2 separate regions of the Homo sapiens genome follow, and region 1 is linked to region 2. Evidence: promoter capture Hi-C in human tissues and cell types (Jung and others, 2019). All regions are on one chromosome and are shown on one strand. Each heading gives the region's core, a stretch centred on a gene start or on the middle of the fragment in contact. The rest is flanking DNA. Distances are from core to core; before and after follow the strand shown.

Region 1 (4,728 bases), core at 1,023-3,522, 310 kb after region 2:
TCTCTCCATCTTTTCTAAGTACCATGATCTTGAAATGGTAGATAAACAAAAAGCAAGAATTTAGGTGGGGCATTAAGAAAATTTCAGCTGGAGTTCATGGCCCTCCTCCTCCCAAGAGGTGTTTTCACACATGGACTCAGAGGTTTTGTGGACCTTTTAAATTCACATGAAGTCCTGAGTGTGTCATTTCCCACACAGACATTTTTCAGGAGAATCAGAATTTTCAATGAGCCATAGATCTGAAATATGAAGCTTCACTGTCTTAAAAGAAGTTGCTAGCCACCAGGATAGATTACAGAGTAGGCATCTGAAATGTCTTTCCTGACAGATCTTTACAAATAGTCTGTTTATTAGAAAATATTTTGTCATTAATGTTAAATTTCTTGAACATTATATTAGTCTTGTGGTTATGCACAATATCCTTATTTTTAGTAGGTGTATATTGAAGTACTTACGGGTATAGTTTTCTATCTTTGATTTTCTTTCAAATGATTCAACCAAAAAAAGTGCATGTGTGGACACTATATATAGACAGCAAAAACATTACAGCAAATGTGACAAAAATATTAAAAATTGGTGAGTCTAGGTGAGGGATATATGGATATTCATTGTGCTATTCTTACAAATCGTCTGTAGTTTTGGAATGTTTCAAAATAAAATGCTGGGGATAAAGAATAAGACACATACTCAAAAATCTTTTGATCATCTAGGCAGAAAGACCGTTTCACACCTATAATTGCAAAAATCCAGGCTACCCTCAGATTTCTCCAGAATAATATCCACTGTTAAAATTTAAAACTATGATAAACTAACTTTATCTTAAGGGAAAAAACTTTAAACCAAGAATTTTACACCCAGCTAAACACTGATTTAAAGAAAAAAGGAAGCGGTAACATACTTGCAAAGGGCCCTTCTTGAAAAAGTACTAGAGGATATATTTCAGCCAGCTAAAAGGTGAAAGTAGAAACGATGGAAAGGGAATGGATATGATTATTTAACTGTAATATAATGTAAGTATTACCTGAATACTGAAATAAATCAAAAGATTATAGTTACAAAATGAAATGTGACTGTTAAAAGACTGATGATGAATAAATACAAATAAAAATATTTGGTAAAAGAATAAAGAGAACACGGAAGGTAGTTTAAGTATACAGACTTTCTCATCTTTAATATAACAAGTTCAAAAGAGATAAAAAGACTAAGTTAAAAGTAGGATAAGTATATTTTAAAACACAAAGGCAAACATTAAATAATATCAACTAAAAATCAGTGGCAGAGAAGTTCGAGAAAGATAGATTTAGTTGAAATATACTAATTTCATCATTGTCTATAAAGTGAATTTTTAAAAATCAGTTAAAGCCGACAAAAAGAAAGCATTTGAAGGATTTGACAACGATACATAACTAAAATGTTTAATTAATTGAGAGCCTGTTAACCTGATAAAGTACACTATTTTAAAAAGTGTTATTTAAATGAGAAAATATCATAAGCAAACTCTTAAAATCAGGAATACAACAAGGATGTCTACTAACATAACTCCTAGTCAGCTTGAAGTAGAGGTTCTAGCCAGCACAAAGCCAAGAAAAAGGGGGAAAAGGCATATGGTCTAGAAGAGGGAATAAAAATGTAATTATTTGTAGATAGTATGGTACTTTAGAAATATGAGGAGAGCTCAGCAAAGTGGAAAAATTAAAAGCCAGTATAAGAGTCAATCATGTTTCTACATATCAGCAACAACAAATTAGAAAACATGAGTTTGAAAGATACTATTTATTATAGCAAGAATATTAACAAAATACCTAGGAATATACCTAAAAAAAGATGCTCTAGACCCACACATAGCAAGTTAGAAAATGCTACTGAAAGGCATTAAGGAAGACTTAACAAATTGAAGAGATGATCTGTATTCATAGACAGGAATACCTAATATTGTAAAGCTATCAATTGATCCCAAAGCGATTCATAGATATAATGTAATTCTAAATAAAATTCCAATATACACATCTTGAAACATGACAATTTGCTCCCAAAAGTTACACTGAAGAGCATATGACCAAAAAGAGAGAAGAAATTTTCAAAGAAAAATTATTGACATGGGTAGGGTAGGGTGGAAACTGTTCTACCAGATATGAAGAGTTATTTTCAAGCTATAATAATTAAGAAGTCATAATATTGGCAGTAGTATTAAAATTACAGAGAACAAAACAGAAAGACAATGAAACTTACTCACACAACAACAAAATTAAAATACTATTTAACTTGATGAAACATAGAGCCCACAACAAAGAGCTGATGTTTATGAGTACCTATTTGCCAGACAACACAGCAATAAGATGAATGAAACAGATAAAATGCATGAAAAATAGATGAAAAAATTAATAGTGGGAGTCTTTAATCAGTTCCCTTGATTTTAATTTTTATCAGATAGATAAAACCAAAGACATTAAAAAACTTAAATGACATGATCAGATAGCTTTAGTTACTAAAACACATACTGTAAAGAGAATTCCCTTTCATTTTAAGTATACGTGCCAATAATACAATAAAACCAAACGTCAATTACAAACTCAGAAAACCAAACTCTAAGATTCAGAATGTATATTTTTCTGGAAGAAGATAATTTACTATCACTGATCTCAGGATATATAGCAAAAATATAAATACATCATTTTTCATAGAAGAAATAAGGGAAATAATCTAGAGGCTTCTTTCTATTAAAAAGCACCAGGCACAGGTGTTTTCATAGGGGAATTCTGCAAACTCTCCAGGTAATTCTAATGTGATTTTAAACTGTTCCTGCATATAACATAAAGAAGACCTTCCCAATTGTTCTAAGCAAAATGTTTTCTTAAATCTTGATACCCATAAAAACCACACTAGAAAATAAATCTAGAGATCAATCTCACTTATAAATGTTCATGAAAAAGACCTTATAAAATATATTTAACAAACAGAATCCATGCTTACAAGTAAAAGAATATTGCATCTGATTAAGTGGGGTTTATGCTACTAATACAAGGATTATTTTCATTAAGAATAAACTTGGGCCAGGCACGGTGGCTCACTCTTATAATCCCAGCACTTTGGGAGGCTGAGGCAGGAGGATCACTTGAGGCCAAGAGTTTGAGACCAACCTGGCCAACATGGTGAAATCCTGTCTCTACTAAAAACACAAAAATTAGCCAGGCATGGTGGCACACACTTGTAACCTCAGCTACTTGGGAGGCTGAGATGGGAGTATTGTGGGAGAATCAGGAGGTGAAAGTTGCAGTGAGCAGAAATCATGACACTGCGCTCCAGCCTGGGCAACAGGGTGAGACCATGTCTCAAAAAAAAGAATAAACTCAATAGATGCAGGCTGTAAAAACATTTTATTAAATTTAACATCCAAAAAATATTTGATATCCTTTTTTAAAAAAAATTGGAACAAGGGTTTTTTTAATATCTAATATAAATAGGTATTTACTTAAAATAGATATATGTATGTGTATACACACCCACACATGCACATCTATGAATAGTGAATACATTTTCCTTAAATTCAGAAACATGACTAGGATGTCTACTCCTGCCACTATTATTTAACAAGCTGGTAAGTACCAGCCAAAGCAATCAAAAAAGAAAGCAATTAATATGTATAACAACTGGAAAAGAGTAAATAAAATAATCATTATTCATAGGTGATATAACTGTATAGCTAGAAAATACTTGAGAATAACTTAAAAATTATTGCAAATAATAAAAAAGTTTAGTAAGATGACAGCGTACAAAATTAGTACATGGAAATAAACAGCTATCATATATAAAAACAACAACAAGAGAATCTAACAGAAGAAGGGATCCAACACAACAGGGATAGGGATATGCTTAACAAGAATTGTTCAAAATCTATATGACAGTATTCTGAAACACAACTAAAAGAAGAAAGAAAAGAACTGAATGAATGAAAAACTTACCATGAGTTTGAATAGGAGAAACTCAACTAAAATTACTAATGGGCTACAGGCCCCATGCAAGTCTGAAATCCAGTGGGGCAGTCAAATCTTAAAGCTCCAAAATGATCTCCTTTGACTCCATGCCTCACATCCAGGTTACGCTGATGCAAGAGGTGGGTTCCCATGGTCTTGGGCAGCTACACCTCTGTGGCTTTGCAGAGTATAGCCTCCTTCCTGGCAGCCTTTGCAAGCTGGCATCAAGTGCCTGTGACTTTTCTAGGTACACGGCATAAGCTGTCAGTGGATCTACCATCCTGGAGTCTGGAGATGGTGGCCCTCTTCTCACAGCTCCACTAGGCAGTGCTCCAGTAGGGATTCTGTGTGGGGGCTCCCAACACACATTTTCCTTCTACACTGCCCTAGCAGAGGTTCTCCATGAGGGCCCTACCCCTGTGGCAAACTTCTGCCTGGACATCCAGGTGTTTCCATACAACTTCTGAAATCTAGGCAGTGGTTCCTACACCCCAATTCTTGAGTTCTGTGCACTTGCAGGCTTAACACCATGTGAAAGCTGCCAAGGCTTGGGGTTTGCACCCTCTGAAGCCATGGTCCAAGCTCTATGCCGGCCCCTTTCAGCCATGACTGAAGGGGCTGGGATGCTGGGCATCAAGTCCCTAGGCTGCACACAGCACAGGGACTCTGGGCCTGGCCTACCAAACCACTTTTTCCTCCTAGGACTCCAGGCCTGTGATGAGAAGGGCTGCTGTGAAGACCTCTGACATGCCCTGGA
Region 2 (4,525 bases), core at 1,291-3,790:
CATTCTGATTCGTGTATGGATGCTTGTTTGGGTACTAGTCAAATATTGTTACATACTTTTAGAGACAGAAACCTCTGTGAAACAAAAGAATTCCAAGCCTAGGATAATGGCCCACTTCTGAAGAATAAACAACACAATAAAATTCTAGTACAAACAACTAATTTCAACATTCTCTGAAAATCTGTAGCAGTCCTTAACATTTTCAGTCCCCAAAACAAGAAAACTATGTCCTAAATCAGCAAACATTAGGGATTATGAGAGCAGTTTTATTGGCATAATTGATAAGACAATATTTACTGAAATATTCCAGCATAGATGTTTTACTGTGTTCTCTCTGTCTCTTTAACCACATCTTTTATTGGTTTTTGGTTTTGGTGATGACAATTTGGGGCTATTAAATCTACACTGGGCAATAGTAAAACCCTAAATGAGAACCTTAATAATAAGAGTTAGGGGTCCTACTAAGTGAACTCCTTGGCATATACTTTATTATCAAGAAGTAGTTTAGGCAATAGAAAAGCTAAAACTTGGTCGGCGCAGTGGCTCACGTCTGTAATCCCAGAACTTTGGGCGCCTGAGGCAGGTGGATCACCTGAGGTCACGAGTTCCAGGCTAGCCTGGCCAACATGGCAAAATCCCGTCTCTACTAAAAATACAAAAATTAGCTGGGCGTGGTGGCCCGTGCCTATAATCTTAGCTACTCGGGAGGCTGAGGCAGGAGAATTGCTGAACCCAGGAGGTGGAGGTTGCAGTGAGTGGAGATCATGCCACTGCACTCCAGCCTGGGTGACAGAGTGAGACTCTGTCATCAAAAAAAAAAAAAAAAAAAAAAAGAAAGAAAGCTAAAACTCATTGGTTACATTCCTGATTTTCAAAGCATCGATCATAGGGGAATCTTTTATGATTTTATAAGTGAGTCTTCTGGAAAGAAACTTAACTCAAAATGGCATAAGCAAGAAAGACAATTTATTGGTGCATTACTTCAGAAGTTCAGGATTTGACTGGTTTTAGAGGTGACTGTCTTCGGATGGCCATTGATGTCATCAGGGCACTTTTCTGTCTCCATTGCTCAGTTTGGCTTTTTTTCTGGTTTTGTTTTATTCTCCAGTAAGTTGACTCCAGCTGCTGCACGCATATATGATATGGTCCCAGGAGCTGCCCTGTCAGTCAGGGAAAGGACCCTCCTCCTTTGTTCTCAGACGATATTCTAATTGGCTGGCCTGGGTCATATCCCTCACAATGTCAGGAAGCTCTGTGGGCTAGTCACACCCAATGGGAGGGGGAAATTCCTAAAAGGAAGGGATTGGGGCAAAGAAGTGGGGAAAAAAAGTATACTTGAGAGGGAGAGAAGTTGGTTCCATTTGCTATGGGAATGATGAAAAATAGTTTATTTCTATTGTTATATGACTTTTGGAGTTAATGGAGACCACAACGTAATCTGTGATAACAAGGAATGTATTAGTATGCCAAAGGAAAGTTCCATTTAAATCCCAGTATCATGTCACTTTCTTAAAATGGTAATCTTTAAATAGAAAAAAAATATATTATTATAAAGTCTGAGTTTTATTTAGTTGGCAACTTCTTAACTATTATGAAACAATAGATTCATTGAATTGAAGCACAATTCAAATATAAACGATCTTTCTGAGAAAATGAGATGAGTGAAATCGTATTGTTAATGTACCAGAGATTAAAAAGAAATCCTTGCTCAATATTTTCTAGAAGAAACAATTATTTTGTGAGTCCATATCCCATTCAAATTCATTTTGATAAAGATGGATTTTATCTTTTAGACTTCCCAATAGCAAAATTAAATTACAATGTGTTTAGTCTTCCTAAAACAAATCCTCTCCTGAAACAACCAAGTTATTAAGCAAATCTAAGCAGAAAGTATTCTCAAATACTATATTAGGCGATTAATAATGACGCACCCCAAAGCATTTCATTTTAAAACATCAGCTGGCCCACATTTCAGAGGTAGTACATCATGCTTGATATTTTTCGTTATTTACTATTTTCTCCAAACATTTTTTTGAAGTCTTAAAAATGCCTTCAGAAATTAAGCTAGGACGCTCCATCTGAGTATATGAAAGTTAGTAAACAGAAAATGTCAAGCACCAAGACGTTTGGATGGCTGGACTACCAGGTGGGGTTATCTCATTCAGGGCACAGGCTCTACGTCTCCAGTGCTGAGCGATCTGCACTGGGGTGGCAGTCCGAGATCCAGCGGTATCACCGGGTGGGAGCAGGGTGGGGGTGCTTGCGTGCGGACATAGGTGGGAGTGGGGGATAGGGAGGAAATGGAGGCGCCGACCGAGTGGAATGGGGGGTGGGTCAGGGATGGGGTGGGATGGGCATCAGTAGCGGGGTGGAGATGTTGAGAGAGAGGCAGGGCTTGGAGTGGAGGTGCGAGAAGGGTGGGGACCCGGAAGGTGGGGTGGGGGCGGGATGGAGGCGGGGCGGGGTGTACGAGGGGCGTGTACACTGGCTCAGGGACACGCGCTCTCGGCCACAGCAACTGGCTCCAAGTTCCCTCCCTCACTCTCCGGCGAAGCCTGCCTGAGCCCTCCCACTCGGTGCAGACCGAACCATCGCGGCCGCCGCCAGCCGGGCCCTTCGCGGCCGCGCGTCCTGGGCCCGTTCCGCCAGCCCCGTCTGCTCTCTACCCGCGGCCCCGCGGCGGCGACCGTGAACACTCGGCGGCCCCTACAGCCCGCTCTCGGCCCTTCGTCCCTCGCGGGCCCCGACTCTCCCTCCTTGCAGTCCCCCGGAGCCTGGCTCCCGGCTCGGGCCGCACCGCCAGGGACTGGGGTGAGCGGCCCAGGTAAGACTGGGCCGTGGGGGCCGGGAGAGAGACTGCTGGGCGGGGGTTGGGATTCGGGTTCAGTGGTCGCGCCGCGCCCCGACTGCGGACAATGCGGGAGCTGCGCGCGGCCAGGCGGCGCGGAGCTAAGCCGGCTCTGCGCCTGCAGCTTCCCCGCCCGGCCCGGGTCTCCGTTGAGCCCGGCCTCACTGGCCCAGGCGGACCCCGTCCGGCTTTCTGGGCTGCCGGGGGAGGCGCAGCGCCGCTGCCTGCCCCGCGCCCCCTCTGCGCTCGGCTTGGCTGCACGTCCCGGGCTCGGCTAGGAGGCTGGGCACGGGGCCGGGGCTGGAGCCGGGGTTGGAGCCAGGGCGGGGGGAAGCTGGCCGCGCTGCGGAGCGGAGGTGGGCTCCGAAAGCGCGCCGCCGGTTGCTGCTGGAGGAGTGGGACTACGAAGGATGGGGACTCCGCTCGGCCACCGCTCCTGAATGGTCTCTAATCTCGGTGTTAAATACTTTATGAGAGTATCAATACCACCTAATCCTTTGCTGAGAATTACTGCTAGAAATGTAGATTCTGAGGTTCCGAAAGTTTGTTTTTGGTTACCCCCTCCAGCTCCTCCCGTGGCCTCAATTGTCTCTATTTTCTTTGAAAGCATACAGATTTGAAATAGAATTAAATTCTCCTTGGCTCACTCGTGTCTCCATCACCCAGCGGAGCTCATAACTTGGCAACAAAGCCCATACAGGCTGTGGGAAGCCGCGATGCCTGCTGCCCAGCCTGGTGCCCTCCTATTGTTTAGAGCTGGAGCTGTACAGTGTAAATGGCAGTGACAGGTCTCCCTTAAGCTGGCTCGTGGGGAAGGAAGGGAGATAACTTTGCAGTGTGCTTAAATTACTCTGGAAAGTGGAAAGAAAACACCTGGTGCTCAGCTTTTTAACCCTTTCAAGTTGTTATTCAGATTTATTGACACACACACACAGAAAAGTGCAGGCTTTCTTTCCTGCCTAAAAAATAGGCAACCTCTGTGTTCTTCCTCACAGCCAACTTATGTCCTCTGCAAAATCTGGCACACATCTGTGACAACATTGCACTTCTGGCGTAACTGGTCTATTTCTCAAAAGGGAATATGATAGTAGAATAAGCATTTTTGCAGTATGGATAGTAGGACTTCCATTTTCTTCGTTTCCTTTGTTGGTGAAGAAGGTATTTATTATTTTCCCCCCAGTTTACACGTAGTGATTTCTGGGAAGATACTTGTATTAATTTCTTGTACTCATTTTTGTGACATCACAACCCCTGGTCATTCAGGTAAGCTATTTATTAAGCATAGTTATTCTAGAATAAAGGTGAGTTAATGGTAAACTAGAATCCTTCACTGATAACATCCCATTGGTTTACCCTACGGTATTTAATCTGTAGTATTACTATAGATTGTACATGTAAAGTCACTAATTGAACAGAGAGGTGGTTGGTGCCTTGTTAGCCTGACATAAAGTGCTTAGAACAGTGCCTTGCATATAGTTCTAGGTGTCAGCTAATATTACTTTTAATTTTTCTTATCAAGCTATGTGTTATTTTCTGTTTGGAAAATGGTCGTTTTGATTTTTAAAATTCTGATCTGTTAGGTCATGATCTATTTTAAGTCTGTGGTTTTAATTTTAGATCAGGGCTGAGGTTGGGTTGTTATTATGCCTATGACTGACAGGCTTCTCTGCGTATCCT

The links. Contacts are between HindIII fragments. The study calls those that stand out against the background at their distance.
Region 1: a fragment that was not itself captured here is called in contact with the fragment with the promoter of FAM110B in region 2 in 1 of the 25 tissues and cell types used here (aorta).

The regions. Positions count from the first base shown.
Region 1 is chr8:58,302,790-58,307,517 of GRCh38, forward strand. No RefSeq gene overlaps it. Among named protein-coding and RNA genes, the nearest start is that of LINC03133, 33 kb to the left of the region's middle. The HindIII fragment of the contact is 6,947 bases long and covers 1-4,728 here.
Region 2 is chr8:57,991,983-57,996,507 of GRCh38, forward strand. It overlaps FAM110B (family with sequence similarity 110 member B), which reads left to right and starts at 2,541. Exons shown (of 4, transcript NM_001377989.1): 1 at 2,541-2,824. RefSeq lists silencers at 2,868-2,917, 2,938-2,987 and an enhancer at 2,992-3,492. The HindIII fragment of the contact is 16,250 bases long and covers 1-4,525 here.